2 separate regions of the Homo sapiens genome follow, and region 1 is linked to region 2. Evidence: promoter capture Hi-C in 16 types of primary human blood cells and fetal thymus (Javierre and others, 2016). All regions are on one chromosome and are shown on one strand. Each heading gives the region's core, a stretch centred on a gene start or on the middle of the fragment in contact. The rest is flanking DNA. Distances are from core to core; before and after follow the strand shown.

Region 1 (4,971 bases), core at 1,789-4,288, 34 kb after region 2:
CATGATAAGTTTCATCATTAACTCAGCATTTTATCAAATTAAAAAAAATTTTATTGTTTCTGTATGTATGCAATATACACTGTTCCTAATGTACACAATACAGGAATAGCATATTTAGTTATATTGTTAATCCTTTGGCAAACAGAATATAATTCAGGAAAAAAAATTTAAGTAAAATTAAAATATAAATATACTCTAGAAGAAAATCTGTGCTTCAGGGTCATACCTAAGGAAATCTCCTGAGAGCTTGTTGGAAAAGAGGAATCTCAGGCTCCAGTCCAGATCCAGTGAATCCAATTTGGTTTTTAACAAAAACCTGATTTGAACATAATTTGAATCCACCTTAAAGTTCGTGAAACATTGATTTAGATAGCATAAGCTCTCCTAATAGTTGGATCACTCCTCAATGTAGGCATCTCTTTAAATACGTATCTGTTCTTAATAATTTTAATTCAAAAATCACAGTTGTCACTAATTACTGTGGCATATTTCTCTTATGATCATGAATACTCCAATTAGCAGATTAGCATTTCAATATATAAAAGCATGAACACCCGGACGCGGTGGCTCACGCCTGTAATCCCAGCACTTTGGGGAGGCCGAGGCGGACGGATCACAAGTTCAGGAGATCGAGACCATCCTGGCTAACACGGTGAAACCCCGACTCTACTAAAAATACAAACAAAATTAGCCGGGCGTGGTGGCGGGAGCCTGTAGTCCCAGCTACTCGGGAGGTTGAGGCAGGAGAATGGCATGAACCCGGGAGGTGGAGCTTGCAGTGAGCCGAGATAGCGCCACTGCACTCCAGCCTGGGCGATAGAGCCAGACTCTGTCTCAAAAAAAAAAAAAAAAAAAAACCATGAACAGTCCAATTTACCTTTGGACTGCTTGTTTATATTTGAAAGTGAATGTTCAGATAATAACTATAAATTGTAACAACATTCTTTGTAAAACTGACATTGTCACACTGCTTGGAACCATCATATGACCAGGAATAATGAAAAGATCAGAGATATCAAGAATAAGATTGGAGTTGACATGAGGTCCTTCAGAATTCCAGAAGCTGAAGCCAAAGTAAATGTTAAATTTATTCTGTGTATACCTAGTCAATACATTATCTTCCTTTTTCTGTTAATTTTTATCATAAAACAGAGCATCTGCTTATGTAAGAGTGCAGAATAACATGTTCCCAAAGTACAATCTAGAAAACGCTGCAGCTTTCGGCCAGGAAGAATTCCGTCATCCAGATACAGATATGTCCTTTTTTTTCTGTGAAATTCGTAAGTATAAACTTAACAATGATTCACCATTAAATAAAATTACGAATCTATGGCCATTCTCATAATTGTTTCTGCCTATTAGTCATACCTCTCTAGGGCATTATGAGATGCCCAAAAATAAATGGGTTTATTCGAATATATTTTGTTCAAAACTACTGGTAAAAACAACCTTAAACTACATAGTTGCCAATTTTATGGGGAGTAGGGTGGTGCCTGTTTTGTCTAATTCTGTCTCCTTGAGCAGGGTCTAAATTAGAGGGTAATAGGACTACTTAATAGTCAATTGATGAGTCTCAACAAAGTTTTTTTTGGCATTATCTTAGTCAATTTGGCCCGCTATAACAAAGTACCATACACTGGGTGACTTATGACTAATAGAAATTTATCTCTCACAGTTCTCGAGGCTGAAAATCTGAGATCAGGGTGCCAGCATGGTTGGGTTCCGGTGTGGACCCCCTTCCGGAGTGTGGACCACAGTCTTCCCATTGTATCTTCACACAGTGGAAAGAGGGTATGACTTCTCTAGAGTCCCTTTTATAAAGGCAACAATCTCATTCATGAGAGCTTCACCATCTTGACCTAATCACCTCCCAAAGGAGGTCCCATCTCCTAATATCACCACATTGGGGGTTAAGATTTCAACATATAAGTTCTGTGGGGATACAAATATTTAGTCCATTGCAGGCAGAATTCTCAGAAATTATGTAGCCATATACTGAATAAATAGGTAATGGGTTATTTTGCCAACTTTACTTTCAACGAAATTGAATGATAATTGCATTTCAATTAATAGATCATTTAAAATAATTTTGTTGTTAGATAATTATTTACTTTTGGCTTACACCTCAGGAGAGGTCAAACAATCAAGCACAATTGCTGTAACAAAAATTCCTCCATTTTGTCTGCTTACCTGTAGAAACAAGGCCGCCGATGTTTTCTATCTAGAGATCTAAAGCTAGGAGTAGGACTGATGCTGAAATTTATCTCATTCTAGCAAAGAATAGTTGTTCAAGAATCTGTGAAATAGTAAATTTTAAATAAAAAGCTATCTATTTTTGTCTCATCATTGAGCTATATATCAATTTTTATTAATATTTTAGTAACTATTGTATTTGTAATATTTTTATGACACTCTGATGCATGATGCATTATGCTACATTTTATCGAATCTAAACTCCACCAAATGTGTAGCATGCAATTATTTTATTCACCATTAAGGAAATTCAATGGTACACATTAGGCCTTTAGATTTGTTTGTCCCCCATATCCTCTACTTTATACCTCTGACCTACTTCTCCCCATTTCCTCTATCCCTCTTCTGTGGTAACAATTAATGAGGAATATAGCTAATAAAATTGTACTGTACTTGGAATTTCTGCTAAATGATTAGATTTTAGTTGTTCTTGCCACCAAAAAAAAGGATATTTTTGTCAGATGATGGCTATGTTAATTTGCTTCACTGTAGTACCATTTTACTCTCTCCATGTATCCCATAACATTACATTGTATACCTCAAATACACACAATAAAATTTTTAAAAAAGAAAATGCAGTGGCACACATCACTTGTTAAATGCACACAATTTCCAAAATATTAAAATGTGAAAACATATGCACCTAAATATCAATGAAATGTAGTAATAATTATGATAACTGCTATGGGCTGAATTGTGTCTCCTGCCAAAATTCACATGTTAAAGGCTTAACCCTCAATACTATTATCATTGGAGAGAGGCCCTGTAATGAGGTAATTAGGGTTAAATGAGGCCATAAAGACAAACGTGGGGGCCCAGATTTCATAGAATACTGGGTTGTGCTCTCTCTCGCTCTGTCTCTCTCTCCCTTTGCCATGTGGGGACACAGCAAGAAGATGGCCATCTACAAGCCAAGATAAGAGGTCTCAGAATGAAACCTACCTTGCCAGCACCTTGATCTTGGACTTCCCAGCCTCCAGAATGGTAAGAAATAAATTTCTGTTGTTTAAGCCACCGAGCCTGTGAAATTTTGTTACGGTAGCCTTAGCTGACTGAACAACAATCTAATCCAAAAGGACAATTTTAAGACATAGCTTTGTGGGAACAGGAAATAAAATTTATTAATAAATAAAGTTGTATGGAAAAATACATTATAAATTTATAATTGTATCTTTATGTGAATATTTTTGAGAAGATGCACGATAGAGTAGTTAATAAAATACTTATAAAAATATATTTCATTAGTAAAATACTCTATGGGAAAAGGACAATGGAAAGATAAGTTCAAGGAAGAAAAAAGATGCAGATTTCTTTTAAGATCTTAAGGATTTTTCAATGAATAGTAGTGCACAGCAAATGGCTATTATACTTACATTTTACTGGTAGATTTTTAAAGTATGGTAATAATTTTATTTTAAAGTGACAATATTGATACGGTTTGGCTCAGTCCCCAACCAAATCTCATACTGAATTATAATCCCCAGTGTTGGAGGTGGGAACAAGTGGGAGGCGATGGGACCTTCCCTTTCACTCTCTCTTCCCCGTTCCCCTTCCATATAAACCACACTTGCTTCCCAGTAGCCTTCCAGCATGATAGTAAGTTTCCCGAGGCCTCCCCTGAAACAGCAGCCTGTGTAGCCTGCAGAACTCTGAGCCAGTATAAACTCTTTTCTTTATAAAGTGCCCAGCTGCTAGTTTTTTATAGCAGTGAGACAGCGGACTGATGCCGACATTTGAAATATGCCAGAAATTATATTCTTTGCATCTAATTAAATATTAATTTCATATTTTAGATACTATCTTAAAGAAATAAGAGAAGGCATTTATGAGAAGGGTAGATATTATTAGTGTTCACCAATCTCATATTCTCTTATTGTAGGCACCCAAATGCCTTGTATTTGATAGGGCCATTTGACAAATTCTGGCCAGTTATATATAAGGGAAAGAGATGTGTGCGTCTTTCAAACAGCGTTAGTGATTCTCTAGTTTCTCTTTCTTCCACCGAAGACAAAGGAAGTCAGTCTTTTTGCAGATGATGCTGCCAGTACATGATGGGTCTCCAGCCCCCGGGATTCCTAAGTCACTTTTTAACAACACACCTCTGACATCCTGCAATGGGCATGTTACATTAATATGTAATAAATTCATGTTGGGAGAAGCCACTGAAATTTTAAGGTTGTCGGTTACCTCAGATGAACTTAGCCTGGGCTGATGCAGAAGGGGAATCCGTGAGGAAAAGGAAATGAGGACCATCATGATCATGGAACTCTGGGGAAGAGAAAATTTTTAAAGCTGTTTCCATGTGTTTTACAGAGGAAAAAGTGACATGAGGTATGAGAAATAGTTAATGAATCTGATAAATTGGAATTTCTTTGATGATCTTACAGAAAAAGGTTTTCAGGGAAGTGTTGAAGGTTGATTCAGTTGCTATAAATTGAAGAGGGAGTAGGAAGTGAGGCAGTGGCAGTGTGAAATGCCATTTCAAGATTGTGGCTCTGAAGGGAGAAGTCGAGGGAGAAATTTAAAAGGGAGATGACATACTAAAAAATATTTTCTAGAAAATTGAGTGTCCGTCTGGCCTGAAATAACTCATATATATGCAATTTGTGTAAATCCCAATGTACTTGTAGTCCAAATTACAAATAATACCGAGTAATGCACAATCTTTTATTTCTCACCAAATCTTTAATGTGTCTTTGTTTCTCTTCTCGACTAAAT
Region 2 (4,638 bases), core at 989-3,488:
ACACTAAAATCAGAATCAAAGAAGCAGTAAACACTCCACATCAGAAAGTCAGCCAGGAAACTAGAACAGACCCTTTAATCTCATTTTTATGACCACCCCAATCTAAAAAGAACTCCATTAAGATACTAGACCTTGCTCTTTTCTAACTGAAAAATGTGTCATCACCTTCATCATACCCAAAACTTAATGAACTGCTGTCCCCCTTGGCATTTGCTACTGTCCTTTTTAGTCTTTCTTTGCTGCTGGAAATGTTGTATTATGAGCTCAAATGTCATAACCTCAAGATACTTCCCTGAGCTGTCTCTCCAGTACTTCAAACCTTAATCTCCTCTCCATTAAGCTGTTTCATTCCCTCTATAGCAATTATCTGTCTGAATTTGTTATAATTAGTTTTTGCTTCATTATTATTATTATTATTATTATTAATTATTTTAGACAGAGTTTTGCTCTTGTTGCCCGGGCTGGAGTGCAATGACGCAATCTTGGCTCACTGCAACCTCCATCTCCCAGGTTCAAGCGATTCTCGTGCCTCAGCCTCCCAAGTAGCTGGGATTACAGGCGCCCATCACCACGCCTGGCTAATTTTTGTATTCTTAGTAGAGACGGGGTTTCGCCATGTTGGCCAGGCTGGTCTCGAACTCCTGACCTCAAGTGATCCACCTGCCTCAGCCTCCCAAAGTGCAGGGATTAACAGGCATGAGCCACCACATCTGGCCTATTTTTGCTTCTTTAAATCTTCATCTGTTAGACTATAAACATTCTGAGAGCAGAACATTTGCTTATAATTTTTCTTCTGTGTCTTCAGGATGGTGTCTATTCAAAAATATTTAAGTGAATTAAATAGCATTTCTCAACCTCCATGTAAGCAAACATATATATTTGTACTTTTGTCAGATGTAGATACATTTGATAGTATATTTTTTCTTTGAACTTACCCTTTTTTAGGTTTTTATTTCCTCTTGCCTAACACTTGACCCTGACTCAAAATTTTCAACAATCCTGGAAGTGATCTCTCCTATTGCATTACTTTTTTTTGTGTGTGTGATGGAGTCTCAGTGTGTCACCCAAGCAATCTCGGCTCACTGCAACCTCCACCTCCTAAGGGTTCAAGCAATTCTCCTGTCTCCACCTCCTGAGTAGATGGAATTACAGGCACGCACCACCAAGCCCAGCTAATTTTTGTATTTTTAGTAGAAACAGAGTTTCACAATGTTGGCCAGGCTGGTCTCGAACTCCTGACCTCAGGTGATCCACCCACCTCAGCCTCCCAAAGTGCTGGGATTATATTACTTCTTTAAGCACTCAGGCTATATCTCCTCCCTGAGACTTTTGTCATAACATCCTGAATAGGTGTCACTTTGCCTCCCTTTCCCCCTCCAGCTCCATTCTAGACACTCAGTGCCATTTCCAAAGCACAGTTCTGAAATACTCTGTGATTTGTGCTTGGGTATGTGAGAACCTGAGCATGTGGGATATGAGAAGCAGGTAGAGAAGACATTATTTATGATGCAAGCATAAGAGGAAATAATTGCGTTATATCAAGGAAGTACCTAAGGTTCAGCCAACATACTGTTAGCCCAATTTTCAAGAGATTCCAAAACACCCCAAGAAAGAGTAATTCACAAGCAAGTACACAAAGATTTTTAGGAATAAAGAACCATTTTTATTACAAATGATTGACTTCCGCAACTGTAGATGTTATGATCATTAACACAGTCATAACAGAGAATCAGAGATTAAGGGAGCAAAAGATAACATTTGGAAAACAGTCAGATGACACCATGGATCCTATGGCCATGATTTCATTCAAAGAAATGTGAGGCTAGAGGTCGAAGATTCTGTCAAGCATGTAATTCTTGGATATAGAAATCTTGGAGTACGAATCCTTGAATCAGCATTATCTTCAGACGTGTCATTTTAGAAGCAAATGGTCCTCCGACAGTGATGTTTTAGCAGGAAGAATAGCATCTTCTAAAGCAAAATGGCCGGTAGCCACAGTAGCCAGAGCCAGAGCCATATCCACAGCCATAGCCAGTTCCATAACCACAGCCATAATGGGAGCCAAACCCACAGCCATACCCACAGCCATAGCCAGTTCCATAGCCACAGCCACAGCCAGAGCCAGAGCCATAGCCACAGCCACAGCCGGAGCCATAGCCACAGGAGTTGCCGTAGTAGTTGCAACACATGTTGTCAAGAGGAGAGAATTGAGATGGGTTTCAAGAAGATGCTTCTGAGGTGTGGATGTCTTCTACTTCCCTGAGACCTTTATATACTGTCAGTAATTGCCAAAGCATATCACTCATTCCCTGACTTAGGCAACAAATATTTAATCAATTATTATGTGCCAGTCACTGTTGACCATCAATAATATTTTGCTTAAAATGAGCCAATTATTTTGGAGACTCTAGTTTCATTTCAGGAACATCATTTTAATCTGCTCTGCCAAAGAACTGCCTCAATGAAATCATGTGCCCAAATATAAAGCTGATACTAATTTTCAAAATCTCCTATCAGTAAATTTATATCTTACATAACAAGTTTTGGGAGGATAATAACAAAATTTTATCCTTTTTTTCCTCTCTTTTTTCCTAAAATGTCTACCTCTACCCATAGGGAAGGAGACACTCCTATCTCCTTTCCTGAGTCATTACAACTTCTTGCCAGACTTCTTTCTCCAACTCACTCTGCACTTCCACACCTACCCCTTGTCCAACCTCCCTCAAATCCCAAGAAACATATTCACATCTGATCATTCAAAGCCAGAATGTATGCTATCTGCAAGTGCTTCCTACATTTTCCTTCCATCCACCAGGCAAACCAAGACCCTGGGGAGGCAGAGAAGCCCTCCTTTTGTCTCCCATTTCTTCAGCTATATAAGTAATTGTCATTGAGGAGCCTTTTTAAAACTAAACAGCTTCATTTGGATAAGGAAGTAAAAAAATTCATTCGACCAGAAACTCAGTTCTTTCCTCCAATACAGATTTCATCAAAGTTTTGCATGATGAAATACAGATACATTCCTAGAATTTAATAAACCATTTTTCTTCTCCTTTCACTACTATTCCTTGGACATTTACTTCAGAAGCTAAAGGATAGTGGACAATTTTAGGTTACTGACAGCAAAAGCCCACCATTAACAACTAACCCTTCTATGATATAAAGTAGCACAAAAATAAATTTTGTCCCGTTTCCATACACGCATTTCACACTACTCATTCAAAATTCTCAATTACCCACTTATTACAAGTTCTCAATCTTCTACAAAAATATTCATCGTGATTTTGAAATCCGAGGTGCCCTCCTTCTTCCCAACAATCCTCTCTATCACACTTACCTTTTCAAGATACAAAAGAGGAAAATTAGTATCATTTTTTCTGCCATTAGTATTTTTCTCATCACCCTCAATTATCAACCAAAAAAACCTTCTGTTTATACATCAAAAGTCAGATCTGGAATCACTTTCTACAGGATGCCTTTCCTCATTGCTACTGTGGATTACATTTTCCCTTCAGTTGGAAATCTTTCCTTTTTTTTCTGCTATCTGTCACTCGTCTCATCTCATTTCTCTGCTATGTTTAGTCCCTTAAAAAAAGCATAAATAGATCTCTGTCTCAATTTTTTCTTTTCCTTTAGTTTCTTTCTGTTTTTTCATCCTTGAAATTCAAAACTATAAATTCTACTTCACAAGTGGATCCTCTTGTTTGCTCCTATATGCAGACGAATATAATAGATTTGTCATGCTTTGGTGAAACTTTATCCTGTTTACTAATAAAAGCATGATATTCTTGAGGAAAGAGACTATACCTTTCACAGTAGAAATTCCAGGCAAACCTGAGACCCAATCCACATTTTACATAAGAGGAACTTAAGAGTCAATAGGAGTCAAAGACTAGACCCAAACTGAAGCCACTGTAGCTTCAATTTGGGTCTAGTCTAGATATGACTGTAGCTTCAATTTGGGTCTAGTCTAGGTAAGACTGTAGACATGATATTGGTGCCACAAAGAAAATTTTTTCTACTGAGGCTGAAAACATGGTCAGAACTCAGGAATTGGTGTTGAGCCATAAAATTTATACGACATTCCAAAATTGTCTAATGTGTATGGCATCTTTATTTTCTCTAATATTTTTACAAATTTTATCTTTATAGTCATAGCAGGGCCATGGTGATTCTGCAAGAGGATACCTGTAATTAGTGCTTGGACCTGTTACTTATGTATCTGTTGTATATGTATATATGTGTGTATTCATGTATAAAACTATATATATGTTACCATCCATTACCTCAACTGCAAATTTACATGAGCAAGCAACTTATCTCTCCACTTGCAGGATACAGAATATCCATCTGGTATACTGAAAGTACTTAGATAAGCAAAGGATTCATGGGAAAAAATATTTTTCAATAAACTTCAACTTTGCATTCCTATCACTAAAGGATTGAAACATTTATCCATCCATAATACAAATTAAGAGTAGAATCCCATGTCATTTATCAGGGTTCTTTAGACATTTATAATGACTGATGGTCCTTGTAATAATCCAGGTGAGTTAGAGTAGTGGGAAGTGATCACACAGACACCTGCTCCTAGTTATTGGTATTATAGGAAAGATACAGAACTTAGCAGAAATGAGA

The links. The method cuts DNA at HindIII sites, captures the fragments that hold promoters and counts their contacts. A CHiCAGO score of 5 or more calls a contact.
Region 1: a fragment that was not itself captured here is called in contact with the fragment with the promoter of KRTAP21-1 in region 2 in 1 of 17 cell types (neutrophils); the score reaches 5.2 in neutrophils.

Annotation. Positions count from the first base shown.
Region 1 is chr21:30,786,629-30,791,599 of GRCh38, forward strand. No RefSeq gene overlaps it. Among named protein-coding and RNA genes, the nearest start is that of KRTAP8-1, 24 kb to the right of the region's middle. The HindIII fragment of the contact is 9,732 bases long and covers 1-4,971 here.
Region 2 is chr21:30,753,190-30,757,827 of GRCh38, forward strand. It overlaps KRTAP21-1 (keratin associated protein 21-1), which reads right to left and starts at 2,239. Exons shown (of 1, transcript NM_181619.2): 1 at 1,826-2,239. The coding sequence starts at 2,189. The coding sequence ends at 1,950. The HindIII fragment of the contact is 7,815 bases long and covers 1-4,638 here.